2 separate regions of the Homo sapiens genome follow, and region 2 is linked to region 1. The links are contacts of gene promoters, found by promoter capture Hi-C in human tissues and cell types (Jung and others, 2019). All regions are on one chromosome and are shown on one strand. The core of a region is centred on a gene start or on the middle of the fragment in contact, and the rest is flanking DNA. Distances in the headings are between cores, read along the strand shown. Region 1 holds the start of ZNF610 (zinc finger protein 610). Region 2 has its middle 28 kb from the start of ZNF701.

The links. The method cuts DNA at HindIII sites, captures the fragments that hold promoters and counts their contacts. A contact is called where the count stands out against the background at its distance.
Region 2: a contact is called between a fragment that was not itself captured here and the fragment with the promoter of ZNF610 in region 1, in 2 of the 25 tissues and cell types used here (H1 embryonic stem cells and small bowel).

What each region holds. Positions count from the first base shown.
Region 1 is chr19:52,333,930-52,338,541 of GRCh38, reverse strand. It overlaps ZNF610 (zinc finger protein 610), which reads right to left and starts at 2,299. Exons shown (of 6, transcript NM_001161425.2): 1 at 2,036-2,299. RefSeq lists an enhancer at 15-515. The HindIII fragment of the contact is 24,712 bases long and covers 1-4,612 here.
Region 2 is chr19:52,595,685-52,600,296 of GRCh38, reverse strand. It overlaps a transcript of ZNF701 not described here and the pseudogene ZNF137P. Among named protein-coding and RNA genes, the nearest start is that of ZNF701, 28 kb to the right of the region's middle. The HindIII fragment of the contact is 3,122 bases long and covers 621-3,742 here.

The DNA of each region.
Region 1 (4,612 bases), core at 1,050-3,549:
AGCTAATTTTTGTATTTTCAGTAGAGATGGGGTTTCACCTTGTTGGCCACGCTGGTCTTGAACTCCTGACCTTAAGTGGATCTGCCCACCTTGGCTTCCCAAAGTGCTGGGATTAGAAGCAAGAGCCACTGCGCCTGGTCCAAAAGCCCCTCATTTTGATTAGTTTGCTAGGAAGGCTCTTCCATCTGGCTGTTCATCTGTATCCTTTGTAATATGGTTTGTAACAAATGGGTGAAACTAAGCAAAAAGTTTCCCTGAGTTCTGTGAACCACTCTAGCAAATTCACAAAATGTGAGGAAAGGGTCATGGGAACCCCCGGTTCATAGTTGGTTGGTCACAAGGTTCAAGTCCCAACCCAGGACTTGCAAGTGGCACCTGAAGTGGGAGCATGCCTGTGGAACTGAGCTCTCAACCTGTAGAATCTGAGGCTAACTCCACATAGATAGTGTTAGTGTGAAATTGAGTTAAATTACACAACACCCAGGTGGTGTCTGATGAACTGCTTGTGGGTGGGAAGTAATCCCCAACACATTTTGGTGACCAGAGATGTGGCATTCTGTGTTGGGTGTTCACTATTGTGTTGATTGTAAGCGTAGGAAAAACGCTTTGGTTTTTCCTCCTGTCTTACCCACTCACCCACACCCGAATGAGGCAAGTCACTGCCCTCTGGCTGAACAGGGATTGTGAATGGAAGCTAACTTGTGATGTCAAGAATTATAAAATGCACTTCCCTTATAGGCAGGAACTTTGCAAGTCTCATCTTCATCTGTACTTTTGAAATAAATTTTGTGCTTATTAGATTACAATTAGAGAAATCAGTATATCACAATTTGATCATAATAGTCCATCAACTCATCGCTCATCTGCACTCAGGTTCCCCCTCTTTTGTCATTAGTATGTTTCCCTCCCTCATTCTGTACAGCTCTCTCATTCTTACCTTCTTTCTCCTGCTTTTTTTCACTTCATTTTTCCCATAAGAATTGGCTTATTTTTCTGCCCCTCTCCTCTCCTGCTGTTTCTCCCCCTCTTCCCTCTATTCCTTCTCTTCCATTTGTTCTGCTCCATTCTGGCAATTTGTTTTACCCCTTGTTCCTCTTTGTGTCCAATTTTTGATTGTCCCCAATTTCCATTCTGCCTGTTTCTTGCCCTCCCTATCTCTGCTTCCTCTCTGTTCTCCCTGTTAAATTTCCTCTTCCCTGCTACACTCTCTTGTCCCCACTCTCTGGCCCCCCCGGATCCCAGGCCTCCCCATGCTGTGGTTCTCCCTCTGCTCTCCTTGTCATCAGCTGCCCCCTCTTGCTGTCCCAGCACCATGCTGCTCTGTCTGCCCTGGCTCCAAATCCCTCCTCCTCTCCCCTACTCTGTCTGAGGAGCCTCCCCCTTTCTGCCCCTCTCCCAATCTTGCTTCATCTTCATCTCTCTGGAGACCCAGCTTTTCTCTACATTTCTCCAGTTACTTTTCTCCCCCTGCTACATTCTCGGCTTCATTCACTGTCTCTGTAAATCTCTCAGCTACTCTCTGCCGTCTGCTTATGGATCTCCCTCATGCTTCTTTTTCAAAATTTTTCTATTTCCTGCCACTCTTTCACCATCTTTCCCCACACATCCATAGGCAGGGGAGTACAATAAGGTGCCCACCTCCGCCAAGAGCACATTTTTAGTGGGATGGAATTTGGGACGAAGAATCCTGAATGTCCTAAGACAGAAGAAGTCACGTCCCCACACCCGGGGGTCGGGAGTAGCGATGGCTGCGAAGGGGAGGCCTGGGGAGTAGGAAGGCCCGGATCAAGGAGGAAAAGGGTGGGGCTGAATTATTAGAAGTGTGGGGTCTCAAGGGTCCCAGGACCCAGTACAGGACGCGGCCTCCCCCGCCGGGACTGGGGCTGCGGCGCTGCGCTTCAGGGGCCGGGGGCGAGGTTGGGAGGCTCCCCGGGCGGGAATCCACCTTGCGGTAAGGACTTTTAAAAGCGCGGGGCAGGACGTTGGGTCAGTAAAGAGTTTTAAGCGGAAAGGAGTCTCGAAAATCCGTGTTTACCTGGCCCAAGGCAGAACGAGCGGGGACAGGACCCGTCGCCGAGCGATTTTAACACACAGGGAAGCGAGCGCCGGACTCTCACGGAGACGCCTGAATTTACACGGGGTGGAGGGAGCGGTGCGGGGATTTCAAGGTCTGTGTTGACTCTCAGATCCCGGGTACAGAAGCGCGGGGGAGCTGGGAAGCCCAGATTGAATCTAAACAAAGGGAAACTGACGCGCTGCGGTGTGACCTTCTACCCACGCGATCCGCTTCCGGGTCTGCAAAAAACTGCGCGCGCGCAGCATAGAGAGCGGACCGGGACGGGACGGGGCGGGGCTTCCCTAGGCCACGCCTCCAGTGCCTCTGTTTTCCGGGTTTTGCTGGCAGTGAGGCTGGAGCAGCTCAGCCCTCTGCAAACTGGGATCCTGCCGGAGCAAAGCAACGTCAGTTGAGGATTAGATCCAGGAAATTTCCTGCTATTAAAATCAATTTTAAGCCGGCCGTGGTGGCAGGCACCTGTAGTCCCAGCGACTAGAGAGGCTGAGGCTGGAGGATCGCTTCAGCCCAGGAGTTCGAGTCTACACTGAGCTATCATGGCCACTGCACTCCAGCCTGGGCGTAGTGTAGACCCAGTGCTATACTCAGTGTAGACTCTGTCCTAAAATAAATAAGTAAATAAAAACTAATTTTAACAATTTAATTTAAAAGGCCTGGAATTCTGTGTGAAGGCGATGCAAGTTAAAATGTGAAATGCAAAGCCCTGCCTGGGTAGCATGTGCAATTTCATGCTGACGGCCCACAGAACATAATAGAAATCTTCTCCCTTTCCATCATCATCTCTGATCTCCAGCACGGGAGAAAGATGTAGGCTGGGAGGTTAAGCCCGTCTAGTGTTTTCACGTTCTTCTGCCTGCTTTTATTCTGACTGTGCTGGCAGCTGATTAGATTGTGCCCACCCAAATTGAGGTGGGTCTGCCTTTCCCAGTCCACTGAGTCATCTCTAGAGTGCTCATCTCTAGAGAGTTTCCGAGGGACAACGCCAAGCGCGTTGGAGGGTTAAGGCCAACCTGGGAATCCGTATTTACCTGGCCCAAGGCAGAACGAACGGGGCATCTCCGTGAGAGTCTGGCGGTCGCTTCCCTGTGTGTTAAAAACGCTACAGGCACATGCCACCATACCCATCGTTCGGCGATGGGTCCTGTCCCCGGAGGGATGTTAGGCCACCACCAACTGCTTTTTTTTCTTGAGACGGAGTCTCGCTCTGTCACCCAGGCTCACTGCAAGCTCCGCCTCCTGGGTTCACGCCATTCTCCTGCCTCAGCCTCCTGAGTAGCTGGGACCACAGGCACCCACCACCACGCCCGCCTAATTTTTTGTATTTTTAGTAGAGATGGGGTTTCACCGTGTTAGCCAGGATGGTCTCGATCTCCTGACCTCGTGATCCACACCCCCCCCCCACGCCCCGGCCCCCAAAGTGCTGGGATTACAGGGGTGAGCCACTGCACCCGGCCCAACTGTTGCTTTTAAAAAAACCAATAACTTTAAAAAATAGATGTAAATTACATTGTGTGTGTGTGTGTGTGTGTGTTTGTTTTTGAGACAGAGTCTTGCTCTGTCACCCAGGCTGGAGTGCAGTGACACGGTTTCAGCTCACTGTAGCCTCTGCCTCCCCGGTTCAAGCGACTCTCCAGCCTCAGCCTCCCAAGTAGCTGGGGCTACAGGCTTGCACCACAGTGCTTGGCTAATTTTTGTATTTTTAGTACAGACACGGTTTCACCATGTTGGACAGGCTGGTCTCAAACTCCTGACCTCAGGTGATTCTCCTGCCTGAAAGATTGGTGCAATTTCTCTGTTAAATCATCTTATATGTTTCATCTTACATTCTGTTTAGATTTTCTGTCTCTACTACTGTCAAAATTGGTAGAGTACATTTTCCTAGAAAATTTGTTTCATCTGTGTTTCCAGTCAATATTCATTTAATTTTATAAATTACTTTATTTTATTTTATTTTTGAGACAAAGTCTCACTCCAATACCCATGCTGGAGTGCAGTGGCGCAATCTCAGCTCACTGCAACCTCCAACTCCCGGGTTCAACCAATTCTCCTGCCTCAGCCTCCCGAGTAGCTGGGACTACAGGCACGTGCCACCATGCCTGGCTAAGTTTTGTATTTTTAGTAGAGACGGGATTTCACTAAGTTGGTCAGGCTGGTCTTGAACTTCTGACCTCGTGATCCACCTGCCTTGGCCTCCCAAAGTGCTGGGATTACAGGCGTGAGCCACCAAGCCCGGCCTAAATTAGTTATTTAAAAAACTAATACACTTTATTTTAGAAGATTTATAGATTTATATTTAAAAAATTCAAAAAAGGTAGACAAGTTCCATATACCCTGACCCGTTTTCCCTATTATTAACATCTTATACTAGTTTTGTATGGGTTTTACAGTTTATAAACCATTGTTGATATACTACCATCAACTTATTCATAATTTATTCTGATTTCTTTGGTTTTAACTCATGTTCTTTTCTGCAGGGAGCTGAAGGCCTGTGGGATGTGACCAAGTTTATGGAGTTTAATCTGGCAAACAGTCTTGAAA
Region 2 (4,612 bases), core at 932-3,431, 260 kb before region 1:
CCTTGGCCTCCCAGAGTGCTGTGATTACAGGCGTGAGCCACCATGCCTGGCACAAGAAATACTCTTTACTTCACTATTTAAATGTTGAGACAATATATTTGAAAACAAAATGATCTTCCCCCAAATGAAAAATCATCTCCACGATAATAAAGAAATAAAAATCATTTTATTAATAAATAAGCCTTAGACCAGAATGTGATGGGAAATAGAGGAAAAGAGCTAAGAGTTTGAAATCAGATGCTTCAGTGTTCTATACAACCCATTAAGGACATGTTTTCAAGATAAACACTAATCAGTCCTCAGGGAAGAGGACACATAGTTGAACAGTCACACATAGTTCATCCTGACTCTACTTGGTAATGGAGGTGACCATCTGTGTCAGCTAACTAGCGTCATCCTGAGGGAGGGGGAGAAACCCTAACCCACAACTTTTGGCAAGTGTGAGTTTTACAACATGGCGACAGGGGCCCTCTCTGGTGAGGCTCCTACAATCCGACAGAAACTGATGTCAGCAGTAAATAATAAAATTTAGAATATATGATTAAGTACAGAATTTATTTGAAGGCAAAGCTTGGAAATAGCCACGTGGAAACATCAACTCTAAATGAATGGGATCAGCGTTCCCAAGTAGAGACGTTAAGATTTCACACACAGGGAAAGACAGAGAAGCTTTAGCAGAATCACCACGTTTTTTATTCTGGGCCAGTGCATAGGCTGCAGCAACTTGATTGATTACGGATAGATACACTTCAAGGAAGGTTACTTTATCACTACATAAGAAGGGACAATGATCCGAGGAGGTCTTATCTCTGGGGCTACTTAGTCTTCTTAATTACTTACAGGAAAACTCTTAGAAGTTGCACCTGCATTCCACTGGACTCAGGTTGCCTGACCACATTCCTCTCAAGGCTCAGAATTATCTCAAAGTCCATAGCCTTAAATTGAAGTTATTTGATGTTTGAATTATTTAATTTCCTACTGAGATAAAGGTACTGTTTCCCTTGTTGTTTGCCTTTCAAAGAGAGCTCCCAAGTCCTTCAAAAATACACCCCTGGGTCATTAAGCTGAAAAAAGGTTTAATTTCTAAAAAAAAAAAACAAAGTTAGCCGGGCATAGTGGTTCATACCTGTAATCCCAGCTACTCGGGAAGCTGAGGCAGGAGAATCGCTTGAACTCGGGAGACGGAGGTTGTGGTGAGGCGAGATCGTGGCTTGCACTCAAGCCTGGGTAACAAGAGAAAAACTCTGTCTAAAAAAAAAAACCTCAGAAGACAGAGAAAATGAATTTACAAATTTTCTAATTGAATGTTCTAAGAGACAAAAGGAAAGAAAAATCTCTTCCTTTACTTTTAAAGGAGGACTTATACCTCTCATTTATTTGCTTGTTTGAGACAGGGTCTAGCTTTTTCACCCAGGCTGGAGTGTGGTGGCAAGATCAGAGCTCACTGCAGCCTCCAACTTTCTGGCTCAAGTGATCCTCCCACCTCAGCACCCCAAGCAGCTGGGACCACAGGTGTGGACTAACACACCTGGCTGTTTTTTTTTATTTTTAGTAGAGATGAGGTCTTACTATGTTGCCTAGGCTGATTTCGAATTCCTGGGCTTAAGCGATCCTCCCTCCTTGGCCTCTCAAAGTGCTGGGATTACAGGTGTGAGCCACCGCTCCGGGCCCTGAGTTTATTTCCATGAAATATGAAATTATCCTCCACTCCTGGGAGTAATAGGCAGTTTTGCACGTCACCTTTCAGTTTCCATTATCCACTCAAACAACCCAGGACCTTGCTTAGTTTAATAATCCCTTCTAATTGCCAGTGCCCGCGGCAACCAGCGCGCCACTCCACCCCTTTACCGAGGTCCCTGCCCCTCTCCCCCACCCTGCCCCAGACAGAGGGGAGCTCGCCCCGCCTGCCGGATGCGTGACTCTACCTGCTCAAAAAAGGCGCTTTGCATTAAAACCATTTTCAACTTAAGAGGAAAAACGATTCAGCGTTCAGTACAGGTGGCCCAACACAATATGTTGTTTTACCTTCGATTGTTTGAAATATTAACTTAGGGGCCGGGCGCGGTGGCTCGCGCCTGTAATCCCAGCACTTTGGGAGGCCGAGGCGGGCGGATCACGAGGTCAGGAGATCGAGACCATCCTGGCTAACACAGTGAAACCCCGTCTCTACTGAAAATACAAAAAATTAGCCAGGCATGGTGGCGGGCGCCTGTAGTCCCAGCTACTCGGGAGGCTGAGGCAGGAGAATGGCATGAACCCGGGAGGCGGAGCTTGCAATGAGCCGAGATCGCGCCACTGCCCTCCAGCCTGGGCGACAGAGCAAGTCTCTAAAATGGACAGGAGGCATCCCTGTGATATTAGGGGTAATATCACGGCACATCAGAAACTATCCACCAATTAGTACCCGGAGAATCTAGTCCTGCAGGGCAAGAGGATGACAGCAGACGACACCTGGGGTCCAGCTGAGGAGAAAGCCAGGACCCGCCCCCTCGAGACCCTGCCCTTCAAAACACCACTTCCAGACCTTGCCCTCAAGATGACGATCACCCTCTGGCCCGGCCTCCAGGCAGCCTCCTCATTCTTGCCCCGCCCAGATTCTGTTCAAGGCCCTGCCCCTTCTAATCAGGTCCCACCCCAACGGCCACCTACACACTCTCATAGCCAGGTGTGGCTGTGATCTATCAGCCTTGGGCTCCCAAAGTGCTGGGATTACAGGCATGAGCCACCCCACCTGGCCCAATCTTCTTAACATAAACACTTTAATGTAAATTAATTCTTAAACTCAAGGTTAAGTCAACTCAATCTCAAGTCAATGCCTATTTGGCTCTAATGTCAATTAAAGCTTTATGATCTTCTATAGTCACTGTATTTGGAACAGTTATCTCAAAAATGAATTTTCTGATGTTCTGCATGGAGTGCCCACAGACTGAAGACCTTGCCACACTTAAGACATTTGTAAGATTTCTGTCCAGTATGGATTCTCTGATGTCTAATGAGGTGTGAACGTGAAGTCAAGACTTTGCCACAATCATCACACTTGTGAGGTTTCTCTCCTGTATGAATTCTCCTATGTTTTGCATAGGATGAAGCTTGACTGAAGACCTTGCCACAGTCATGATATTTGTAAGGTTTCTCTCCAGTATGAGTTCGCTGATAAACTGCAAGATATGATCGATGTCTGAAAATTTTACCACATTTATTACACTTGTAAGATCTGTCTTCATTATGGATTCTCCAGTGATTTGCAATGGTTGTAGCATTACTGAAGACTTTGTGACAATCATTACATTTGCAAAGTTTCCCTACACCATGGATTGCTTGATGATAAAAAAGTGACGACTTCCCACTTAAGGCTTTGCCCCACTCATTACACTTGTAAGGTTTCTCTCCAGTATAAACTCTCTGATGTTGTGCAAGGTTTGATTGTTGATTAGAAACCTTAGACAGTATGAAGTCTATGATGACATGCAAGGTGTGCTTTTCTACTAAAAACCTTGCCACATTCATTACATGTGTAAGGTTTCTTTCCAGTATGAATTGCCTTATGCATTACAAGGGCTGAATTTTGAGCAAAGGTCTTTCCATACTCGTGAAATGTGTAAGGTTCTCTCCAGTATGAACTCTCTGATGTTGTGCAAGGCATAAATCATGGTGGAAAACCTTGTCACAACCCTTACATTTGTAAGATTTCCCTCCAGTATGAAGTCCATGATGTGCAAGGTTTGCTTTTCTACTAAAAGCCTTGCCACATTCGTTACATGTGTAACATTTCTCTCCAGTATGAACTCTTACGGCATGAAAGGCATGAATTATCCCAGAAAGCCTTGTCACAAACCTTACGTTTGTATGGTTTTTCTCCAGTATGAATTCTCCTGTGTGTTTCAAGTTGTGATCCTCAACTCTAAACTTTGTTGCATTCTTCACATTTGTAATGTTTCTGTACAGTATGAAGTCTATGATGACACTGAAGGGATGACTTCTGATTGAAGGTCTTGGAACACTCATTACACTTGTAAGGTTTTTCTCCAGTATGAACACTATGGTGCCATGCAAGGTATTGCTTCTGATGAAAGACTTTGCCACATACATCACATTTATACTGTTTCTCTCCTGAATGGGTTACGTGATGTCTCCTTAAACATGAGCTATGATTAAAGGCTTTGCCACACTCATTACATTGGAAAGGTTTTTCCCTCATGTGTACTTCTTGTATTTGTGTGAATAATGAAGAATAGAGGAAATTCTTCCCATACTTAATAGAAATATGGGTTTTGAGCCTACAAATTATTTGGGATGTTGAAGCTGAGGAAGCATCATTGATAGACTTCTCCACTTGATTACCAATTTTCCCTTGGGTCTGAAACATGTGGAGTTCAGGCAGATGCGAATGAAAGCTTGATCCAAGCTGATCTTTAATAGGCTTGTTTCCAGCATGTCTTTGATCACGTCAGTCTGTACTACCTGTCAACTCTTTGGTTTCTGTCATGGGTGCTTCATGGCCATTTCTTTAAATTTCTTGCCACTGAAACTCAAAGTGATGAATATCTTTCTTGATTTCTGGGAAGCAAAAATCTCCAGTGTGATGACTTTCATGTATTTGCAACGTCCCTGT